Regions from separate parts of the Homo sapiens genome. Here all the other regions are linked to region 3. The links are contacts of gene promoters, found by promoter capture Hi-C in human tissues and cell types (Jung and others, 2019). All regions are on one chromosome and are shown on one strand. Each heading gives the region's core, a stretch centred on a gene start or on the middle of the fragment in contact. The rest is flanking DNA. Distances are from core to core; before and after follow the strand shown.

Evidence for each region. The method cuts DNA at HindIII sites, captures the fragments that hold promoters and counts their contacts. A contact is called where the count stands out against the background at its distance.
Region 1: a contact is called between a fragment that was not itself captured here and the fragment with the promoter of KRR1 in region 3, in 1 of the 25 tissues and cell types used here (lymphoblastoid cells).
Region 2: a contact is called between a fragment that was not itself captured here and the fragment with the promoter of KRR1 in region 3, in 1 of the 25 tissues and cell types used here (small bowel).

What each region holds. Positions count from the first base shown.
Region 1 is chr12:76,398,474-76,402,265 of GRCh38, forward strand. OSBPL8 (oxysterol binding protein like 8) reads right to left here. Exons shown (of 24, transcript NM_020841.5): 7 at 1,400-1,501. Among named protein-coding and RNA genes, the nearest start is that of BBS10, 52 kb to the left of the region's middle. The HindIII fragment of the contact is 6,988 bases long and covers 1-3,792 here.
Region 2 is chr12:76,107,639-76,111,908 of GRCh38, forward strand. No RefSeq gene overlaps it. Among named protein-coding and RNA genes, the nearest start is that of NAP1L1, 25 kb to the left of the region's middle. The HindIII fragment of the contact is 6,893 bases long and covers 1-4,270 here.
Region 3 is chr12:75,510,184-75,514,008 of GRCh38, forward strand. It overlaps KRR1 (KRR1 small subunit processome component), which reads right to left and starts at 1,426. Exons shown (of 10, transcript NM_007043.7): 1 at 1,330-1,426. The coding sequence starts at 1,414. RefSeq lists enhancers at 639-1,183, 1,184-1,727, 1,234-1,393. The HindIII fragment of the contact is 10,159 bases long and covers 1-3,825 here.

The DNA of each region.
Region 1 (3,792 bases), core at 986-3,485, 890 kb after region 3:
TACATGAATCCCTATACTCTCATAAAATGTTCTTCATCCTAGGGTTTAATGCTATGTCAATAGTAAGTCTAAAACTACTTTTTCTATAAATTTCTATTTCCATCATCTATTAAAATGGTGTCTATGCAATTCAGTGAATTCAAAATAGTGAAAGGATGTTAATATTTAGATCAAAAATAAGAATTATACTTTTACTGTAAAACATCTGTTATTTCAATGCACCTACATGAAGTATGAAATAATACAGGATTCCTTAATCCCCCAAATAGGCGTATCACAGTAACTCTCAACAAGAAACATTTAGAAAGAAGGAGTTGGGAGCCAGGCATGAAGAAAAGAGAAAATCTAAGATACATGTATATGTAAAAGAATGGTAAGACAAGAGAGGCGAAAGGGAGATAGGTACCCTGAAATAACATTTTGGATCATGGAGATGCAACAGAACATGGAGGACAAATTATCAGAAGGAAGGTAAGGCAGAGAAAGTCAGCCAGGCCAGGCAACGTGTTGGGGACTTAACAGAGGGCAGCTTTAACTCTGAAAAACCTAAGTGAGATCTTGAGCTAATGCACTTCTAAGTAGAGTCAAAACAAGTTGGAAGGTGTTATTAGCACAAGATCGAAAACCCTAGAATTAGTTAACTGAATTGTCAGGGAAACTATCACTAGACTCTCATTTTAGTGAGGGGAGTCCTATGACAGATTTCATAAGGATTATGAGGTCAGAGGCCTTAGTAAGTCTTGGCAAAAGTGGGTTGGGGTGATTCTCAGGTACATGCCAAGTACTAAAATTTTCTGTGAGTCAGAGTCCTACGAGATCACTCTTAAACTCAGGATTCCTACAGCTGTCTTTCAGATAAGAATGAGAAAGAGGATAGAGTGACCAGGATGAAAGAAAAGGAAAGAAAAATAACCAGAGGCCAAAAGAATAGGGTCTGGAAACAGCAATGTGTGCTTGTCTGATAATTAACAATTTTCATTTTTTAACAATATATTATGTATCCAACTGATTATTTTAAAATAGCTTTTATATTAAGTTTGTCTCATCCTTTCAATAATATACCAAGTATATGGAATACTTAACAATAATTGGAATAGCAAGCAATGTATTTTTTACAGCATATTGTATTAGACAACATATCACACAAACCAAAAAGCTTTTTTAAAAGAACTATACTGTATGTAATTGATGCTATTGTTAAGAAAGACATTAAGATTCCTTCTCTTCATTAAGATGGGAACACAGAACCTCCGGGAATACAATAATAGTTTCTTTGCCAGTGAAAAACAATCATTTTAGGAGCTGTTTTTGTCTTGTAGGCGTTAGGTATACTCCAGGCTTTTCCATTCCAGTAGGTAAACATCCAGCAATCTGAATTCATGATTCAAAACACACTGACCTTTAACCAATCAGCCATAACAATAACAGAAGGATCTGTGATTGTACTGAGCAGCTCCTTTGTGGCTCTTTTCTTTTCTTCTCGGTAATTTTTCTTTTGTACCTATTTTATAGAAATAATAGAAAAGATAAAAACTCAACAGAAATGAGCAATTTATTTTAAGTTCAGGGGTACAAATGCAGGTTTGTTATATAGGTAAACCTGTGTCATGGGGTTTTGTTGTACATATTTTATCATTCAGGTATTAAGCCTAGTACCCATTAGTTACTTTTCCTGATCCTCTCCCTCCTCCCACCCTCACCCTCTGAAAGGCTCCAGTGTGTGTTGTGTCCCTCTGTGTGTCCATGTGTTCTCATCATTTTGCTTCCACTTCTAAGTGAGAACATGCAGTATTGGTTTCTGAGTTAGTCTGCTAAGGATAATGCCCTCCAGCTCCATCCATATCTTTGTAAAAGACATGATGTCATTCTTTATTATGGCCACATAGTATTCCATGGTGTACCACGTTTTCTTTATCCAGTCTCTCATTGATGGGCATTTAGGTTGATTCCATGTCTTTGCTATTGTGAACAGTGCTGCAATGAACATATACATGCATGTGTCTTTATAACAGAATGATTACATTCCCTAGGTTATATACCCAGTAATGGGATTGCTAGGTCGAATGGTAGTTCTGTCTTTAGGTCTTTGTGGAATCACCACACTGTCTTTTATCCTAATCTAGTATTCTAAAGAGGTTTAGAATTTCATACTATAATGGTGGAGTAGAAAAGTCTAAACCGCTGTAGAATTCCAGAATCTTACAATAAAAATACTGTATTTTTTTTTTTTGAGCAGGAGTTAGTCTTAGACAACCAAGGTTAGAATCTAGTTTTTCTGATCACTAGTCCAGTTCTATGTATCTTTTAAATAATTTTACCTTTTTTTTTTTTTTTTGAGACAGTCTCATTCTGTAACCCAGGCTGGAGTGCAGTGGCGGAATCTCAGCTCACTACAACCTCCGCCTCCTGGGTCAACGCAATTCTTGTGCCTCAGCCTCCCAAGCAGCTAGGATTACAGGCATATGCCACCATGCCTGGCTAAGTTTTGTATTTTTTGTAGAGATGGGGTTTCACTATGTTGGCCAGAATAGTCTTGAACTCCTGGCCTCAAGTGATCCGCCCGCCTCTCAAAGTGCTGGGATTACAGGCGTGAGCCACCACACCTGGCCAATTTTACCTCTTTTTAATTACACAATGCATAAACACAGCCTCACAATAAAAATTTCAAACATAAAGCTAGAACCCATTTTTATTATACCCCCAACCTATTCCAATCCTCTGAATTGATGACTGTTAACCTTCTGGAAAACACTGTCTTTTCAGACCTTTTCTAAGTAACAACCTATAGAAACATGTAGATGTTGTGTTCAGCATGCAAAAAGGTCCCCCAATAAACATTTTTTGAAGAGTATTCATGTCTGTATCATTCTCATTATTTTAAATGTTACATAGGATTCCAACTGCAAATTAAAATAATAAGAGAGCTAACCCTGAGGGCATTCTGTGAACCAGCCACAGTTCTAAGCACTTTACTTGTATTGTCATTACGTCATTTAATCCTCACAACAACCTTGTGAAGTAGAAGTATTATTATCCTTATTTTACAGACACGAAAACTGAGGCAGAGACAGTAACCTGCTCAGAATCACACATTTAGTAAATTGTAGGGTCAGGATTCAAACAGGGGCAAACTAGCTCCCAAAGCTATTTTTTTAACCACTGGCCTATACTGCTTCTATAATATTTATTAATATATTCTCTTACTGATAGAAACCTTCTCTGTTACCAATTTTTTCAAATAACAAAGAATGCCACAACTGTTTGCAATTGGAAGTTTTGCTCTCTTTCCCAATACTAATATGTAAGTTATAAATAATTAAGAAACCATAACTATAAAATTAATTTATCCAAAATATGAAAGTTTCACCTTCATAAGTTAATTCTGATAATTTGAGGAATTAGCAGTGAATAATGAGGTCTTATTGTTGCTTTGTTGTTATAATTTGGATGGGAAAAGAGTGATGATAACCTATTAGTGACTACATTTTTAAAAACTAACAAAATCTTCCACCAGAAAAGTTGCATTTAATGATAAACAGACTAGACATAATACAATTTTAATAATTCTATACCCTCAAAACTTTAGATTTTGGTCTTTATTAACCTATCTGATTTAATATGGGATGCAAATACAAATATATATAGGACCAGGCATGGAACACAAATGGTAAAATAGACTAGTTAGGAACCAGAGCCAGTTGGAAAGCATGTGTTTCTTAAGCTCCAGATTCTATGGCCACTCAGGAAGGTAAGCCCAGTGCTACATATTTCTCAGAGAAATTGGAAATCTGG
Region 2 (4,270 bases), core at 838-3,337, 600 kb after region 3:
AATTTGGAAAAGATAAAGACTAATAGAGTCTTGACCTGTGTAGAAGACTGACAAGCAAAGATTTGTGAAATAATTAATTCTTACATCAGAAAGTTATCCTCAAAAGATGATGAAGATAAACCAGCAGTTCCTGCCTTTGAAAGCTTTAGTCCATTGTCATCATTAAAAGCTGATAGAAAAAAATACCATCAGGGGCTAAGGATTTGTTGAAATTAATTTTAAGACTTTCTTTTCCGGCTGGGCATGGTGGCTCGTGCCTGTAATCCTAGCACTTTGGGAGGCTGAGGCCGGTGCATCACTTGAGGCCAGGAGTTTGAGACCAGCCTAGCCAACATGGTGAAACCCCATATCTACTAAAAATCAAAAATTAGCTGGGCATGGTGGCACATGCCTATAGTCCCAGCTACTCAGGAGGTTGAGGCAGGAGAGTCACTTGAACCCAGGAGGCAGAGGTTGCAGTGAGCCGACATCACACCATTGTACTCCAGCCTGGGTGACACAGTGAGACCCTGTCTCAAAAAAAAAAAAAAAAAAAAAAAAGACTTTCTTTATGATAGGTCCCCCGAAGTTGGGTAAATATGAATTAATTTTCATATGGGTCAGTCAGTAGTCAGCAGATACAGTTGTTAGCACATTAGCAACAAGAATAGGAAACTGGTCACAATGACGACTCCATCTCCTTCACAACTGTCTTCACTGCCCCTGCCTTGCTGTGTTCTACAGAATTTAAGAGAAGCTGAGGGTGCTAATTTACCTTAGCTGGTACTTTCCCCCTGTGCTTCCTTTATGTTCAGAAGTGGAGAAGGGAAGAGGCTATAAAAATAGAAATGGCTCTGAGGTGTGGCCTCCAAGGACTGATTTTTTTACAGACAAGGTCTTGCTCTGTCACCCAGGCTGGAATGCAGTGGTGCAATCATAGCTCACTGCAGCCGGGACCTCCCGGGCTCAAGCAATCCTCCCGTCTCAGCCTCCTGAGTAGCTGGAATTACAGGTGCACATCACCACACCTGGCCAGGACTGACTCTTAAGAAGGACCAACACTTCTACCCAGTAACCAGGACCCCCTTGCCAGCCCTTCACTGCCAGATCCATCTGCCTGAATGCCACCAGAAATGCATTTGATGCTGGGCACGGTGGCTCTTGCCTATAATCCCAATACTGTGGGAGGCTGATGTGGGAGGATTGCTTGAGGTCAGGAGTTCAATATCAACCTGGGCAACATAGCGAGATCGTGTCTCTACAAAAAATTTTAAAAATAAAATTTAGCTGGACCTGGTGGTACATGCTTGTAGCCCCAGCTACTCGGGAGGCTGAGGTGAGAGTATTGCTTGAGCTTAGGAGTTCAAGGCTATAGTGAGCTGTGATTGTGTCACTGCACTATGCAGAGTGAGACCCTGTCTCAAAAAAAAAAAAAAAAAAAAAAAAGAAATGCATTTGATTTCTGAGGTATCCTCTTTAAAAATAAAAGCATCTCGGCTGGGCACAGTGCCTCATACCTGTAATCCCAGCACTTTGGAAGGCCAAGGCAGATGGATCACCTGAGGTCAGGAGCTCAAGACCAGCCTGACCAACATGATGAAACTCCGTCTCTACTAAAAAAAATACAAAAAAATTAGCCAGGCATGGTGGCGGGTGCCTGCAATCCCAGCTACTCTGGAGGCTGAGGCAAGAGAATTACTTGAACCCAGGAGGCGGAGGTTGTAGTGAGCCGAGATTGCGCCATTGCACTCCAGCCTGGGCGACAGAGTGAGACTCCATCTCCAAATCAATCAATCAATCAATCAATCAATCAATCTCTGGAAAGTTTCTTCCTAGCACCTGAGATTAGCTACACTGAGAAAATGGGGATTTTGATGAGTAGAGGTTGGAGAATAGGACATGGAGAGCATGGAACACTTTGGTGGGTAGAATTGGCCAGTGCAAGAGGCAGAGGGAGTGCCCAGGTCCACAGCTGTACCCTGCACCATAGAGAGAGGCTCTCAAAGAGTAGAGAAGGGGTACAGAAGGAAGATGAATGACAACACAAACCAAAACATATGCTTAATATGTTTAAACAGCTACTTATGTAAAGCATTTAGAATAGCACCTAGACTCAAATAAGTATTTACTAATCATTGGTCCTAGGGCTAGTCAGTTGCCACAACAGGGAGAGAAAGTTCTATTCTTTCTCCTTCTTCTCCCTCCTCTCTTATCACGTGGTCTGCTGTTTCCAAGACTCAAAGATATTACTTGCCACCGGGGGTGGGGGGCAGTGTTGTCATGGGGGTTGGTGGTAGTGTGGTAGAAGCTCACACCTGTATTCCCAGCTACTCTGGAGGCTGAGGTAGGAGGACCACATGAGCCCTGGAGGTTGATGCTGCAGTTAACTGTGATAGCACCACTGCATTCCAGACTGGGCAATAGAACGAGACCTTGCCTCAAAAAAAAAAAAAAAAGACTTGCGCAATTTGTGGTATAGTTTAATTCCACGTTAGGTAAAAAGGCTTTAATGAGCTGGCCCTGGAACCGAAATAATACTCATTCTATTGTTTTCATGGAAAAAGTGACTAGCACACATTAGGCTCTCAATAAATCTTTGTTTAAACAAAAACATGTTTAGCATTCTAAACAACCAATGTATACTTGGGAATGGATCCTATTTATAGGTTGAGTGCTCCTTATGTACTGAAGGCATTTTTATTTAGCTCTTCAGAATTGAACAAGGAAGATTTGTAAGCTCTTGCAAGTGATAATTGTGTTAAAGTTTGTGATTTTATCTGACTTAATATTTTCTATTGAAAGTTAAAGAATTGGACATCCTCACCTTGGACAGGCTGGAGAAAAATATCCCTTGTATAAAAACTGAATTAGACGGACTTTTAGAGGCCTCACTGGGGTCCTGGAGCTGAATCTGGGAGCAGACCTGGAGACCTGAATGAGCTCAATGTTTCAGTGGAGGAAAATGAAAAAGTACCTATAGGTTTTATTGTTACTACTTTTGAGGGAGCAGAGAAGAGAGGGGTTGAATAGGAAAGTATGATCTGAGCAACAAGACTTGACTTCAAACTATAAAAAGGCCCTAACACTTTTTTGTGATCCACCTAGGCAGAAAACAGGTGGTGTCCTGAAGACTTACGGTAATGAACAGGTTGAGTGTGGTACGTGAGGTACAAATGACCAACACCTAGAGAGCCAGGGACAATTAAAAATCTCACTGGGCATGCCAGGCACAGTTGTTCATGCCTGAAATCCCAGCACTTTGGGGGGCCGAGGCGGGCGGATCATGAGGTCAGGAGTTCGAGACCTGCCTGACCAACATGATAAAGCCCCGTCTCTATTAAAAATACAAAAATTAGTGGCCCATGCCTATAATCCCAGCTACTCAGGAGGCTGAGGCAGGAGAATCACTTAAATTGGGGAGGCAGAGGTTGCAGTTAGCTGAGATCGCACCACTGCACTCCAACCTTGGCAACAGATGGAGACTCCATCTCAAAAAAAAAAAAAAAAAAACCTCACTGGGCAGGGTGGCTTGTGCCTGTAATCCCAGCACTTTGGGAGGCCAAAGCTGGCAGATCACTTGAGGCCAGGAGCTCAAGACCAGCCTGGGCAACATGGCAAAACCCCATCTCTACAAAAAAAAAATACACAAAAGAGTTAATCAAGTGTGGTGGCATAAGCATGTAGTCCCTGTAGTCCCAGCTACTTGGGAGGCTGAGGTGGGAGGATTGCTTGAGCCTGGGAGGTTGAGTGTGCAGTGAGCTGTGTTTGTGCTGTTACACTCAGCCTGGGCAACACAGTGAGACCCTGTCTCAAAAGAAAAGAAAGGAAGGAAGGGAAAGAAGGGAAAGGAAGGGGAAGGAAGGAAGGGAGGGAGGGAGTGAGGGAAGAAAGAGAGAAACAAAGAGAGAGAGACAACGAAAGAGAAAAAGAAAGACAGGAAGGAAGGAAGGGAGAAGGGGGAAAGAGAGGAGAGGAGAGGAGAAAAGAAAGAGAGAGAGAGAGAAAGAGAAATCTCATAGATGGAACATGTTCTTGGCTTTGTAATTGGTCACTGAGCCAAGATCATCAGAATGTGGTGAAAGTTGAGTGTCAGAAACAAAGGTAAAATCAGTCTCCTCTAAGAAAAATTCAGGAAGTCTTATAATCTAATAATCACTAATTGATTAAACTGGAGGAGAATTAGATGCCTAGGAAGGTTAACCAGTGAGTGCTTTTTTTTTTTTTTTTTTTTGCGACAGAGTCTCACTCTGTCACCCAGCCTGGAGTACAGTGGTGGGATCTCAGCTCACTG
Region 3 (3,825 bases), core at 176-2,675:
TCCACTCCTAGTGGGAACAAAACTGACACTAGCACTTTGGAAAAAAGTTAGCATTACTTACACACACCCTACACTTCAGTGATTCCAATCCTATGTTCACAACCTAGAGAAACCCTTGAACATGTTAACCAGAAGACATGTACAAAGATGTTTTAGCAGTATTGTTTATAATTGCAAGCAATTGGGAACAATCCAAATGTCCACCGATAGTAAAATGAAAAAATAAATTGGGGTATATTCATACAAGGAAACACCACATAACAGTGAAAAGACTAAAACTACACCCGCAAGTATCACCCTGTTTGAAAAACAAAAAGCTAAATCTAAGAAGACACAGAAAAATGCATACGGTCCACTTTCATGTATATAAAATTAAAAAACAGGCTAAATTAAGCCACTTCATGACTACAAGAAGAGGAACAGAATGCAACACAATTCAGGGTGGTTACGTCTGATACAGGAAAAGAGAATATGATCTGAGAGGTGCACGTAAGGGTTTGAGGGGTATGGTAATGCTCTATTTTACTTAGTCTGAATGCTAGTTTCCCGCATGGTTTTATTAAACTCTATATAAGTTGTATCCCCTGCTATGTACGTTACATAATCATTTAATGAGCAACAACAAAGAAACTTTGAATACTTTCCCAATGCATCTAAATTGAGAGTTCAATGTTTTTAACACTTCCTATAAGCCTGGTTGAACAGATCCCCAGGCTATTTATGACTTCTCTATCATTCACACTGAAGAAAACGGGTAAAACCAGACTACAACGCAGGAGTTAACAATTAAAAGGTAACACAACCTAAACAGTAAGGGCTGTGTCGTCTAATATTTTAGCATCTGACAAACAGGAATTGATAATCTTTCAAAATGTCTTTACTGACAAACTAGAGCTAAGGACATGTCGGATAGCTCCTTTCCCCATACCTCACCCCATTATCAGGGTCCACTCTTGTATATCATGACTACCTATTCCCACCTCACCCTATTCCTCATTCCGTCAGTGACTTTCAGCCACCCGCAGGCTTACAAGGTTCTGCGTCGCCCTAGGCATTTTCTTAATACTCATCCTTTTACAAAAGACGTAATCCGCAACAGCTTCGCTTTGGGGACCCTTTAGCAAAAGCAATGAATTAGGAACACCTGGGTGGCACCATATCGGCCAGCCGTTCCTGTGGGCCCAGCCAAAATCTTATCAGCGATTATTCAGGTACTCAACTACACAGTACAGGCTCCAGGTGGTTTTATAAGTCCACGAGGAACGAAAGAAAAAAACATCGCAACTCAACGTACACAAACCCCAGGCTTCGGTTCCCACATAACATCACCTTGGTTCTCCGGCTTCGGCTTCTGGTTACGAAATTCACTTTTTCCAGCGCCTTTTTCTGGCCGCTCCAGCGAGGGAGACGCCATTTGCAAGCTGCTTCCGGTGGCTCCGGAAATGAAACTGTTCTTAAACCCTACCGGCTAAAACGCCTACACTCAAAATGAGTTCCGCGGAACTCAGACGAGGAGATCTGCGCAGTCTCCGTGCGTACGTGCGTTAAGCCCGCGCTTTTACACAAACCACAGCTTCTCCTACGTGGCCAATGAAGAGCCGGAGACTTTCTCCCAGTATGCCCTGAAACCATGGAGTTTGCGTACTGGGACTTGTAGTTTAGCAGGCGGTATAGGCAAATTGGATACTGTTTTATCCGTAGTTTCCTCGTGGCCTCACGGCCTAACCTGGACCATCGGACAGCGGAGTGCTACCAACCTGTCATTGATGTCATTCATTCTTTCGATAAATATTTATATGTTGGCCAAATATGCGCTAGATGTTGGGAGGAAGTACAAATATGAGAATACAATGTATATTGGGCCTCCACTGCAACAAGTGACAGGAATAGCTACTATTTATTGTGAGACTACTTTGTTTCAGTACTTTATTTACATTATTTCTAATTTTAAAAACAGTGACAAAATTAAACTTTTCAAAGTTGTTTCTGATGGTAATCTTCCCGAGTGTTGGTATTTCTCTAAGTCAGAGGGATGGTAATTCAACATCCTGACGTTTCTGAAGTATTTCAACTAGCCTAAGATTTCTCAAAATCTCTAAACTCCTTTTCTACCCCCAACATTACATAGGGCTAAGATGTGTAGAGAGGTTCATCACTAACTACAAATAACTACACTTTTGGAAGTATAAGAGTTCTTCGACATGCCAAATATAAGATTTTTTTAAATTTTGATTTTATTGCTTGCATTTCTAAAATTTTCTGCAGCAAATAGGGAAAGTCTTTGATAGGTTAAATTCCTTGCATTAGTGAAATACACGTTTGTCTGATAAATCCACTCTCGTGTATCTTATACAATAATTTAGGTTTTCATATATGAGATCCAGGTATGAAACAGATTGTTACATATGGACAGAAGAACCCACGACAGAGGGGTTTTTTGTTTTTATCCTGTGAGTTTTATAAATGACAGGGATTTTATCTCTGTTCTTTTAATTTCCTCAAAAAATGATAAATTCCTAAAATAGAACAGATAGCAGCAGGTGAAAGTTATAAAGTGAGGAGTACACCTCATGAAGCAGGTTTTTATCATTCTTATTTTAAGTAACTCAATCACTAATAAGTGGAAGGCCCGTCTTCAAGTTCAGGCAGTTTGACCTAGCAGCTTCAGGGGGCTACTATTCATTAGGAGCTTCAAATGTGTTAGAGGGCTGATAGGGATTAAGGGGAGGGAATAGTCTAGAAATAATATTTGTGTTAAAGCCCTTTATTTTATAGCAAAATTTTCTACATAGGCTTTTCTTCCCATTTACGTGTATATTTTTAATCTTAGTATTGCTATTATTTGAGGAATATTGAGAATATGATGGAGATGGGAAAACGAAAACCCACCCATCCTTTTCTTGGCACTATTGAGTCTGTTTGTAAAACCCAACCTTTTAATTACCATACTATGCAGAGCCCACAGTTCACCTGTCCCTTTTTGAAATTTTTACATCTTTTTCCAAATCATTACTGAAAGGGGTGTAAAAACATGGATAATAATTGAGTTCTAAGATTCTCTAACGTCCTCAAGACCTCCTATTATAGATGACACCACACTAAAACTGTCTGCTTTCCAAAGGAAAAGATTCATCAGGCTCCTACAATAAGTTATTTCAGTATTAAGTGATTCTTTCCCTTCCCTAACTCAAAAGCCCTCATGTTGTCCACCAACTGAATATACAATATAAAAACAATATATGATTGGAAGTTAAGTGAATTTTTTTAAGTCTGTTACTTGCCTTCCAGAACCCATAATCTAACACAAGTTATATCACAGGAATAGGGAGTTATCTTACATATAGGATATAAAAGCTTTTACTAAAAAATGAATCCTGCAACAAAAATCACAAATTAATTTAAAAATATTAATTATAATGACTATTAATCATATACTGAAGGGTATATATAATTATACAGTACTTTTTCCTCTGTGATAATATGAGATAAAATATAGCAAGATACTAATTTGATGCTAGTAGTTATAAGAAGTAATGTATAAAAATTAAATGAATAGAAAATTGCATGAGACTGAGAGGCTGAAGCTTTTCCTTAGTACACATACATTTTTTTTTCAGTTTTAAAACAGACTCTGATGCTTAAATATTGTTACTCATTAACTGAATTTTCATATTTTGGCTTGACAAGCAGGAATAGCACATATATATATACTTACTAAAAATTAAAATTGACAGTCAAATTGAATGAGAACAACGTTTCAACAATTTGCTTAGACTATGTTTTAAGCAATTTTGAAGAAAAATTTTAAAATAAACGTGGTATGGA